Linked DNA regions of Homo sapiens: all the other regions are linked to region 1. The links are contacts of gene promoters, found by promoter capture Hi-C in blood cells and fetal thymus (Javierre and others, 2016). All regions are on one chromosome and are shown on one strand. The core of a region is centred on a gene start or on the middle of the fragment in contact, and the rest is flanking DNA. Distances in the headings are between cores, read along the strand shown.

Evidence for each region. Contacts are between HindIII fragments. The CHiCAGO score rates a contact against its expected background, and 5 or more counts as called.
Region 2: the fragment with the promoter of FSTL3 here is called in contact with the fragment with the promoter of PRTN3 in region 1 in 4 of 17 cell types (erythroblasts, M0 macrophages, monocytes and 1 more); the score reaches 6.6 in erythroblasts.
Region 3: a contact is called between the fragment with the promoter of WDR18 here and the fragment with the promoter of PRTN3 in region 1, in 12 of 17 cell types (neutrophils, monocytes, total CD8 T cells and 9 more). The highest score is 14.7, in neutrophils.

Annotation. Positions count from the first base shown.
Region 1 is chr19:839,427-842,390 of GRCh38, forward strand. PRTN3 (proteinase 3) reads left to right here and starts at 1,573. Exons shown (of 5, transcript NM_002777.4): 1 at 1,573-1,643. The coding sequence starts at 1,583. The HindIII fragment of the contact is 23,301 bases long and covers 45-2,964 here.
Region 2 is chr19:674,859-677,822 of GRCh38, forward strand. It overlaps FSTL3 (follistatin like 3), which reads left to right and starts at 1,534. Exons shown (of 5, transcript NM_005860.3): 1 at 1,534-1,668; 2 at 2,934-2,964. The coding sequence starts at 1,566. The HindIII fragment of the contact is 16,650 bases long and covers 1-2,964 here.
Region 3 is chr19:982,881-985,844 of GRCh38, forward strand. It overlaps WDR18 (WD repeat domain 18), which reads left to right and starts at 1,465. Exons shown (of 10, transcript NM_024100.4): 1 at 1,465-1,683. The coding sequence starts at 1,474. RefSeq lists silencers at 1-120, 1,285-1,374 and enhancers at 1,059-2,000, 1,425-1,574, 1,605-1,784. The HindIII fragment of the contact is 36,612 bases long and covers 1-2,964 here.

The DNA of each region.
Region 1 (2,964 bases), core at 323-2,822:
GGACTTCTGTAAGCGTGAAATCCTTTCCAAATGAAACGTTAAAAAGCTTTTTTTCTTTTTGGCCTCCAAGTTCATTCAGTGCTTCTCTCCATTTCACTGTAGGTTTAAACCGTTCAGTTATAAATAAATAATTTTATCCTCTGTCCTCGGCTTTCCCCCGTTTCCGGCACTGCAGACATGGGGGCTGGATTTGTCTCTGCGGCGGGGCCATCCTGGGCACTGCAGGGCCCTGCCAGGAGCTCCCTCCAAGTCGTGACAACCACGGATGTCTCCAGGCCTCACACAGGGACCCCTGGGGGCAGAATCACCCCAGGGTTAGAGGATTCCACAGACCCCAAGAGACTCTGAGTCCCATGATCCTCTGCCCTGCTGAGGTCCCAGGAGGCTGCACACATTGAAATCCACACCCTGAGTGGGAGGGAGAGAGGAGGCGAGTCCCGGGAGCTGGGGTCCCCCGGGTTTATGCCGTACGCCCCATCGGGAGTTTATTCTGGTGTCCGGTGTGAGCAGGGGGCAGACTGGATTTTTTATTTTTTATTTTTATTTATTTATGTTTTGAGATGGAGTCTTGCTCTGTTGCCCAGGCTGGAGTGCAGTGGCACGATCTTGGCTCCCTGCAACCTTCGCCTCCCAGGCTCAAGTGATTCTCCTGCCTCAGCCTCCTGAGTAGCTGGGACTACAGGCGCCCGCCAACACGCGCAGCTAATTTTTGTATTTTTAGTAGAGATGGGGTTTCACTATGTTGGCCAGGCTGGTCTTGAACTCCTGACCTCAGGCGATCCACCCGCCTCGGCCTCCCAAAGTGCTGGGATTACAGGTGTGAGGCACCGCACCTGGCCATTTTTTTCCCCAAATAATGAACACTGGTCTCTCCCCTGGGCCCTGTGGACATCGGGGCTGGATCCTTCTCTGGGGCAGGCCCGTCCTGGGCACTGCAGGGTGCTAGGCATCATCCTTGGCCTCCACCCACTCCATGCCAGGAGCTCCCCTTTCGTGACAGCCACAGGTGTCCTCAGACCTCGCCCAGGGTCCCCTGGGGGCAGAATCACCTCTTGATTGAGAATCCTGGCCTTAAAGGGGGAAGAAAACCCCCAGACAAAACTGGCAGGAGGATGTTCGCTGGGGCCTCAGGTGAGGCACTGAGGGCACTCGTGGTGGGGCCCTGCCTTCCCGAGCTCTGCATCCTGTCCCCTGCTACGTCCTGCTGTCTGTCCGTTTCCAGCTCACCCACCCACGGGACACACCTGCCACGGCCGGCTTTGCTGGGGCCACAGGGACCTCGTCAGGGAGGCGTCTCCTTGTGGGTGGCACGTGGGCATGTGTTGCTCTGAGGGCTGTGGCCATGTTGCCCACCTGGCCAGGGACCCCCGACTTGGGTGGGTGACAGCCAGCCTCCCCGCCCCCACAAAGGTTGGGACCTTGAGCCCAAAGCCCCCACCTCCTCCCCGGAGTCCGTTCTGACTCCCAGGCTCCCAAGGCAAAAGGAGGAAGTGGGGACCCAGCCTGGGCATTGGGCAACTCAACGGCCTCTGGCATTGGGCTATAAGAGGAGCTTGACCGTGGGTGCACCCTGGACCCCACCATGGCTCACCGGCCCCCCAGCCCTGCCCTGGCGTCCGTGCTGCTGGCCTTGCTGCTGAGCGGTGAGTGAGCCACGTGCCCATCCATCCAGCCTCCAGGCCCCGGTGGATTGTGGGGAAATATCCACCACGAGGTCCATCCAAAGCCCTTCTGGCACAGCTGGGGAAACTGAGGCAGGGTCAGGGGAGACTCCACTCACTGCTCGGGACCAACGCTTGCAGGGGTGGGGAGGACAAGGGCAAGGGGGAGCCCTGGCCATTTGACTCAGTTGCCTATCTGTAAAACGGGCAAAACCCAGCCCTTCCCTCCTGAGGAGCTGTTTTGGGAATTAGCTAGTAACAGGCGAATTCCTGGACAGCACCCAGCCTTCAGCAAATGCTCAGTGAATATGCATGAATGAATGAATGAGTGAATGAATGAGTGAGTGAGTGAATGAGTGAACAAATGAATGAGTGAATGAATCAATGAGTGAGTGAATGAATGAGTGAATGAGTGAATGAGTGAACGAATGAATGAGTGAATGAATCAATGAGTGAGTGAATGAATGAGTGAATGAGTGAATGAATGAGTGAATGAGTGAATGAGTGAACGAATGAATGAGTGAATGAATGAATGAGTGAGTGAGTGAAAGGGTCGAGGAGTTAGTGATGCTGGAATCAGGGGAAGAAGAGAGCATGGGCCCCCTCAGGTCCCTATCCTGAGGGTGATTTTCTTTTTCTTTTTCTTTTTTTTTTTTTTGAGACGGAGTCTCGCCCTGTCGCCCAGGCTGGAGTGCAGTGGCGCGATCTCGGCTCACTGCAAGCTCAGCCTCCCGGGTTCACGCCTTTCTCCTGCCTCAGCCTCCCGAGTAGCTGGGACTACAGGCGCCCACCACCATGCCTGGATAATTTTTTGTAATTTTTGTAGAGACGGGGTTTCAAGGTGTTAGCCAGGATGGTCTCGATCTCCTGACTTCGTGATCCGCCTGCCTCAGCCTCCCAAAGTGCTGGGATTACAGGCGTGAGCCACCGCGCCTGGCCCTTTTTTTTTCTTTTTTGAAACGGAATCTTGCTCTGTCGCCCAGGCTGGAGTGCAGTGGTGCAATCTCAGTTTACTGCAGCCTCAGCCTCCTGGGGTCAAATGATTCTCCTGCCTCCGCCTCTTGAGTAGCTGGGATTACAAGCACACACCACCACACCTGGCTAGTTTTTGTATTTTTAGTAGAGATGGGGTTTCACCACGTTGGTCAGGCTGGTCTCGAACTCCTGACCTGAGGGGGATTTTCAATGCCTCAGTTTGTTCATCTGCAAAATGGGTCTCTTTGTTGGCTGATTTTTTTTTTTTTTTTTGCTTCTTTTTTTTTATTTTGTTTTGTTTTGTTTTTTTGAGATGGGGTCTCACTCA
Region 2 (2,964 bases), core at 284-2,783, 160 kb before region 1:
GGAGATTCCCGGGGGAAATGCCAGAGGCCAAGGCCAGGTCAAGACGGCGGGGTGTCCCCCCTCAGTGCCACTAAGGCAGAACTTGGCCCCTGGCCACTGGCTGCTGGGGGACACAGGCTGGGCAGCTAAGGTGGAGGAAAGGGTACAGGTGTGTCTTCTGTGGGCACAGATCTCACTCAGGCCAGAGAAGGGGCTGTGCCGTGGGGCTGCTGGACACGTCCGTTTCCACCTGCGGGGTGGGCAATGCCGGCACAGCGAGTGGCCAGACACAGGCATGCCCAGCAGACACCCAACCGCTCTCCACCACCTCAACCTTCTGTATTTTCCTGAAAGCATTTACCACTCCTTGAAGTTATAGATTAATTTGTCTCTGCATTTTGTTGTCCAAACCAGGAGCTCGGTGAGGGTGTGATGGGGTCTGCCTTGGTCACCGTGGCACCCCAGCACCCCGCAGGGTCCCTCTGGCCAAAAGAGATGTTCACTGATGCCCTAGAAGCAGGAACAGAGGGGCTCCCCTGCGCTCGCCAAGGGCGCCTGACAAATCTGGAGGCCCCCATGACAGAATCAGCTCCAGAGTAGGAAATGTGTCTGGCTGCACGAAAGCCCCCTCGGGCGCAGCGCCTCCAGGCCCACGCAGATGTCGCTGTCATACATTGTTGGAAACGCCTCTGCTGGAAACAGTGTTTGCTGAATCTTGGAGGGAGAGGAAAAAACCTAGTAAACATTCTTGTTGAGGTGATCTGGGGGAATGTCTGCAAAGGCTTGGAGGGCTGATGGGGCAGAGCTGCCCAGGGGCCCAGGACAAAGGCCAGGCGTGCGCGCGCACACACACACACACACACACACACACACGCAGTGGCCTCCCTGGGGGCCGTGGCTGGGCGAGGCCTGCTGTTGTCCGAGATGCTGGAAGGAGCTGTGTCTCTGGGTCTGTCCCGGCCGCACCCCGTTCTGTCCCACACCCAACCACTCCCCACCCACAGGCCGGCTCCAGCGGCCAGGTGGACGGGTGCGCGGCCCGCGCTGTGAGCAGGGAACCATATCCAGCTGAGGTTTTGGGTGTGTGGGGCGGGTCGGGAACAAGGAGGCCGGGTTGGGGGGCTCAGACCACACTTGGACCATGAAAGTGACCACATGCAAATCACAGAAACGGGATGCAGGGATCCACAGACGTGCTCCTCTTGGGTCCCCGTTACCTCACCGCCACCCCTGAAACTGAAGACCCCCAAACCCACTTTAATTCCTGGAGACGGCCCCTCGATCCACCCAAAAGGCTGCCACCACCTCGAACCCACACCCCTGTCCCGGTTCCGCCCTGGGTCCAGCCACATCTCCCCAAATGCATTCTCTGGCTCCGGAAGGGGACCCGGGCGCTCGCCCCCAACTGCCCCCCGCAGCGGCCGGGCCCGGCGCCTGCCCACCCCGCGCGGGACACGGCCTCGCCCCCGCCACTCCCGCGCCGCGCCCCGCCCCGCGCCCCGCCCCGCCCGCGGCCCGCGGGACCTTTATAGGGAGCGCCGGCCGCGCGCTGGGAAGTCGGTGCCGCTGCCGTCTCTGCGTTCGCCATGCGTCCCGGGGCGCCAGGGCCACTCTGGCCTCTGCCCTGGGGGGCCCTGGCTTGGGCCGTGGGCTTCGTGAGCTCCATGGGCTCGGGGAACCCCGCGCCCGGTGAGTGGGGCGGCCAGAGGGGCGGGCGGGGCGGGCCACCCACGTGGGGCTGCGCGGAATGCGGCCGGGGGGACGTCGGGGGGCGCGGCGGCGGCGGCGGGGGCGAGGGCGGTGTCCGGCGCAAGCTGGAGCCGGGAAGGTCTGAAGGAGGGTCACCAAGAGGTCAGCAGAGCAGAGGTTTCTAATCACAATGACCGCTGACATTTATTGAGCGCTTAGTGTCTACCTCTCCCCTCCCTGAACCTGTGCCATCCCGATAGTGCCGGAGCTCTCTTCATCTCCGTCTTCCAGATGGGGAAACTGAGGCTCAGGGTCACACAGCCTGTAGCAGGCAAAGCCAGGGTTCTAGCCGCGACCGTCCGGGTCGGTCCTGGTGCCGAGAGGTAGTGCTGGGTGTCGGGAGCCAGGCCCTCCAGCTGGGGCTGAGAGCTTTCCCGGGTCCTGGGTAGACGGGGCATGGAGTCTCACACCTGGGACTTGCCGGGAGGTGCCAGGCAGGAGACGGCCCCACTCCTGGCCTCAGTTTCCCCTCCTATGATGGGTGCCAAGGTGCTGCGTTCCACAAGCTGGTCCCTGGCAGTGTCTGTGAACCAGCAAGCGCTCTGGGATGGGGGCTGTGGCCGTTCCTGCCCCCAGGGACGGGGGAAGAAATGGGGGGCTCTCTGGCTCCCCACCCCCCATCCCTGCAGCCCCACCCCACCCCAGCCCTGCGCCAAAGGGAGAGCAGAGCCCCCTCCCCGAAGGCCACGTCCCTGGGGAGACAGTGAGCTCATGCAAGGGGAATGTTCCCAAGTTGGAGTGAGTAAGAGGCGGGCCAGGCGGTGGGGGGGCTGCCAGGCGCGGGGCTCCGCGTGCCCTCGCCCTCGGGTGCTGTCTAGACAGAGGGCAGAGGCGGGAGAAGCGGCTCCAGGGCCTGCTGACCCTGACATGCCCAGTGCCTGGTGTTTGGTGGTGTTTGAGGGGTTGGGCAGGGTGCCAGCCCCTGGCCTGGGGGCTTGGAGGGTACGGGAAGGGACCTCCTGGGGTGGGTGGGGGTTGGTGGTGAGGCTGTGGGGGGGGGCACGTGGAGCTCAGAGGGGAGGAGACATTTCCAGGGTTCTGGAGCCAGGGTGGGGACACCCATGTGGTTTTCTGCCCCTTCTTCCTGGGTGGGGGTAGATCATTCCGTGCGTAACTACTCAGCACCACCTGCATGCATCTGTGGGCGGGCCAGAAGCTGGGTGTCAGGAGTGGCCCAGGAGAGCACCCCGTTCCCCGGCCCGCAGGTGGTGTTTGCTGGCTCCAGCAGGGCCAGGA
Region 3 (2,964 bases), core at 215-2,714, 140 kb after region 1:
CACCTGGCGGCCAGCGGGGCTGCGGCGCCGCACGCTCTGGCACCAGCCTCCTGCCCCGGCCGTGCCCTCCGCCGGGAGCCGCGGACCAGGAGTCGCACCGCCTCCGGGGACCGCACCCCGCATGCAGCCTCCAGCCCCTGCCTCTTGCTGCTCGAGGGCACACGACCCAGGTCAGCTGCAACCCCCGGGCGGAAATCCCGACTTTTAAATGAATGCTCCCTTTTTATCCCTTTTTAAGGGGTTGGCAACTAATTGCACATTTTAAATCATACTGTTTTTAGGCCGGACGTTGTGGCTGAAGCCTGTAATCCCAGCGGTTTAAGAGGCCAAGGCCTAAGCCCAGGTGTTGGAGACCAGCCTGAGCAACACAGTGAGACCCCCCATCTCTACTAGATATATATTTAGTATAAATAAATAATAGATATATGTTTTTCTTTGAGACAGAGTCTCATTCGCCCAGGCTGGAGTGCCTGGGATCTCGGCTCACTGAGACCTCCGCCTCCCGGGTTCAAGCGATTCTCCTGCCTCAGCCTCCCACCACGCCCGGCTTTTTGTACTTTTTGTAAAGACGGGGTTTCGCCATGTTGGCCAGGGTAGTCTCGAACTCCTGATCTCAGGTAATCCACCCACCTCGGCCTCCCAAAGTGCTGGGATTACAGGCCTGAGCCAAAGCGCCCGGCCTTTTTTTTTTTTTGAATGCCGTTTTCAGACATGGTCCGTGACGGGCAGCCGTGACATGAAGTTAGACCCTGCTTGGCTCGGACAGAACTGGCGACTTGTTTGACCTACACCAAGCTATCCGACTAATAATTTAGATGTTGAGGCCCCTAAAGAGGGGTCAAGGGGGAGGCAGATGTCGACCAATAAGGAAACACTGGGCCGGGCGCGGTGGCTCACGCCTGTAATCCCAGCACTTTGGCAGGCCGAGCTGGGAGGATCACTTGAGCTCAGGAGTTCGAGGCCAGCCTGGGCAGGACAGTGAGACCCTGGCTCTACAAAACTAAATAAATAAGGAAGCAGTGAATTCCAATGTATTCATCGCCAACTAGCCATGTTGCTGGGTGTGCGCTCTCTCTTTTAGGCGCAATGTGTCATTTAGGCCTGTGACGTCGGAACTTTATTATTTGAACATTTAAAAATAAATGAATCCAAGAGCTTGAGTCACTTGGCCAAAAATGCCCAGGAGGAAAAGGCCAAGTCAGGTACCCCGGCTCTAGAGCTACTAACTGATCGCCGGAGACCCTGGGCCTTGGAAGAAGTCGCCTCCCCAGATCTCTAAGCAGGCCGCGCGACCCTCGAGTCTCAGGTAAGCGGGAAATCCCACTTCACAAGAAAGCCCCTCTCTCCGAGGCACGGGCGCATGCGCGGGTCGGCCACCCGCTGGGGCCGCGGGGCCGCCGCTCTGGCCCGCGTGGGGCAGTCGTCCGCGTCTCGCTCATGATGACGCACGTCCGGGGCGGTGGGGAAGGCAAGATGGCGGCGCCCATGGAGGTGGCCGTGTGTACGGACTCGGCGGCCCCGATGTGGAGCTGCATCGTGTGGGAACTTCACTCGGGCGCCAACCTGCTCACCTACCGCGGCGGCCAGGCGGGACCCCGCGGCCTGGCGCTGCTCAATGGCGAGTATCTGCTGGCGGCGCAGCTGGGCAAGAATTACATCAGCGCCTGGGAGCTCCAGCGGAAGGTGCGGCGGTGCGGTCTCGCTGCTGGGGTCATGGGGCGCCCGAGGCTGAAGTCGGGGGATGGGTTGGTGGGGGCCGCGTGCACCCTTAGTCGGAATTGGCGTGGGGAGGGGAGGTGGTCTCCGTTCGGGCGCTCTGCGCATGCGCGGGTCTGGGGGCTTTGGGGAGATACGTGCGACCTGTTAGGCCGCTCTGCGCACGCGCGGGGCTCAGGCCTGAGCTGCTATGGGGGCAGTGGGGGAAAATGGGAGACGCTCCGGGGGGTCCCTTGGGGCAATTGCGCATGCACGAGTTCTTGGAGCGCGAAATTTGATTAAAAGGGGCCTATGAGCTCTGTGGATGTTGTGGTTCTGGAGGAAAAGGGAGAAGGACCAAGGTCTGGGGGAGTCTCCCATGAAGGGGTGGCGCAGGAAACTCATGTTTATTCCTCCAATAAAGCAACAGATACTCACCGTCGCCCACAGTTTCCCCTCTACTCCCAAGCCCAAATGCAGCCAGTCCCTGAAGCTACTCGCTTCCCCCGTGTGCCCGCTGAGATCTCTTGGGACTGGCTCTGTGCTCCAGCATTGCCTGATGGAGTCTACACACAACTCATAAATTTCTCCCATTTTATTTTAGTTTTGAGACAGGGTCTCACTCTGTCGCTGAGGCTGGAGTGCAGTGGTGCGATCTCGGCTCACTGCAGCCTCTGCCTCTAGGGTTCAAGCGATTCTCGGGCCTCAGCCTCCTGAGTAGCTGCAACTACAGGCCCGCACCAACCACCACACCCGGCCCACATTTGTATTTTTTGTAGAGGCAGGGTTTCACCATGTTGGCCAGGCTGGTCTCGAACTCCTGACCTCAAGTGATCTGCCCACCTCAGCCTCCCAAAGTGCTGGGATTACAGCCGTGAGCCACCACGCCCGGCTGAGTTTTCCCATTTTAGAGAGGAGGAAGCTGAGGCTTGGGGTCTTAGGTTGGACATTATGGATAGAAGGATTGGGGCACAAGCCTACTGGGCTCTTGGGCCCCAGTGTCCTTCTGGATCCTCTTTGTTCTGTTCCTGTACTCCTCCCACCCAGGGCCCCTCTGACCCTCAGAGGAAGCACCAACCTCACATCTACCACCTCCAGCCTCGAAGCCTCTTGCAGGGGCGAACACTTCCTTGCTGGACCATGCATTTGCTCAAACCACCCTGCTCCCGACTCCTCTTCCTGGTTCTCTGACTTAGCCATTGCCCAGGCGTCCCCTCCCCTCGCCCTCCACTGCTGTAGTAGCTCCCGTGTCCTGCATGGGGCTCACGA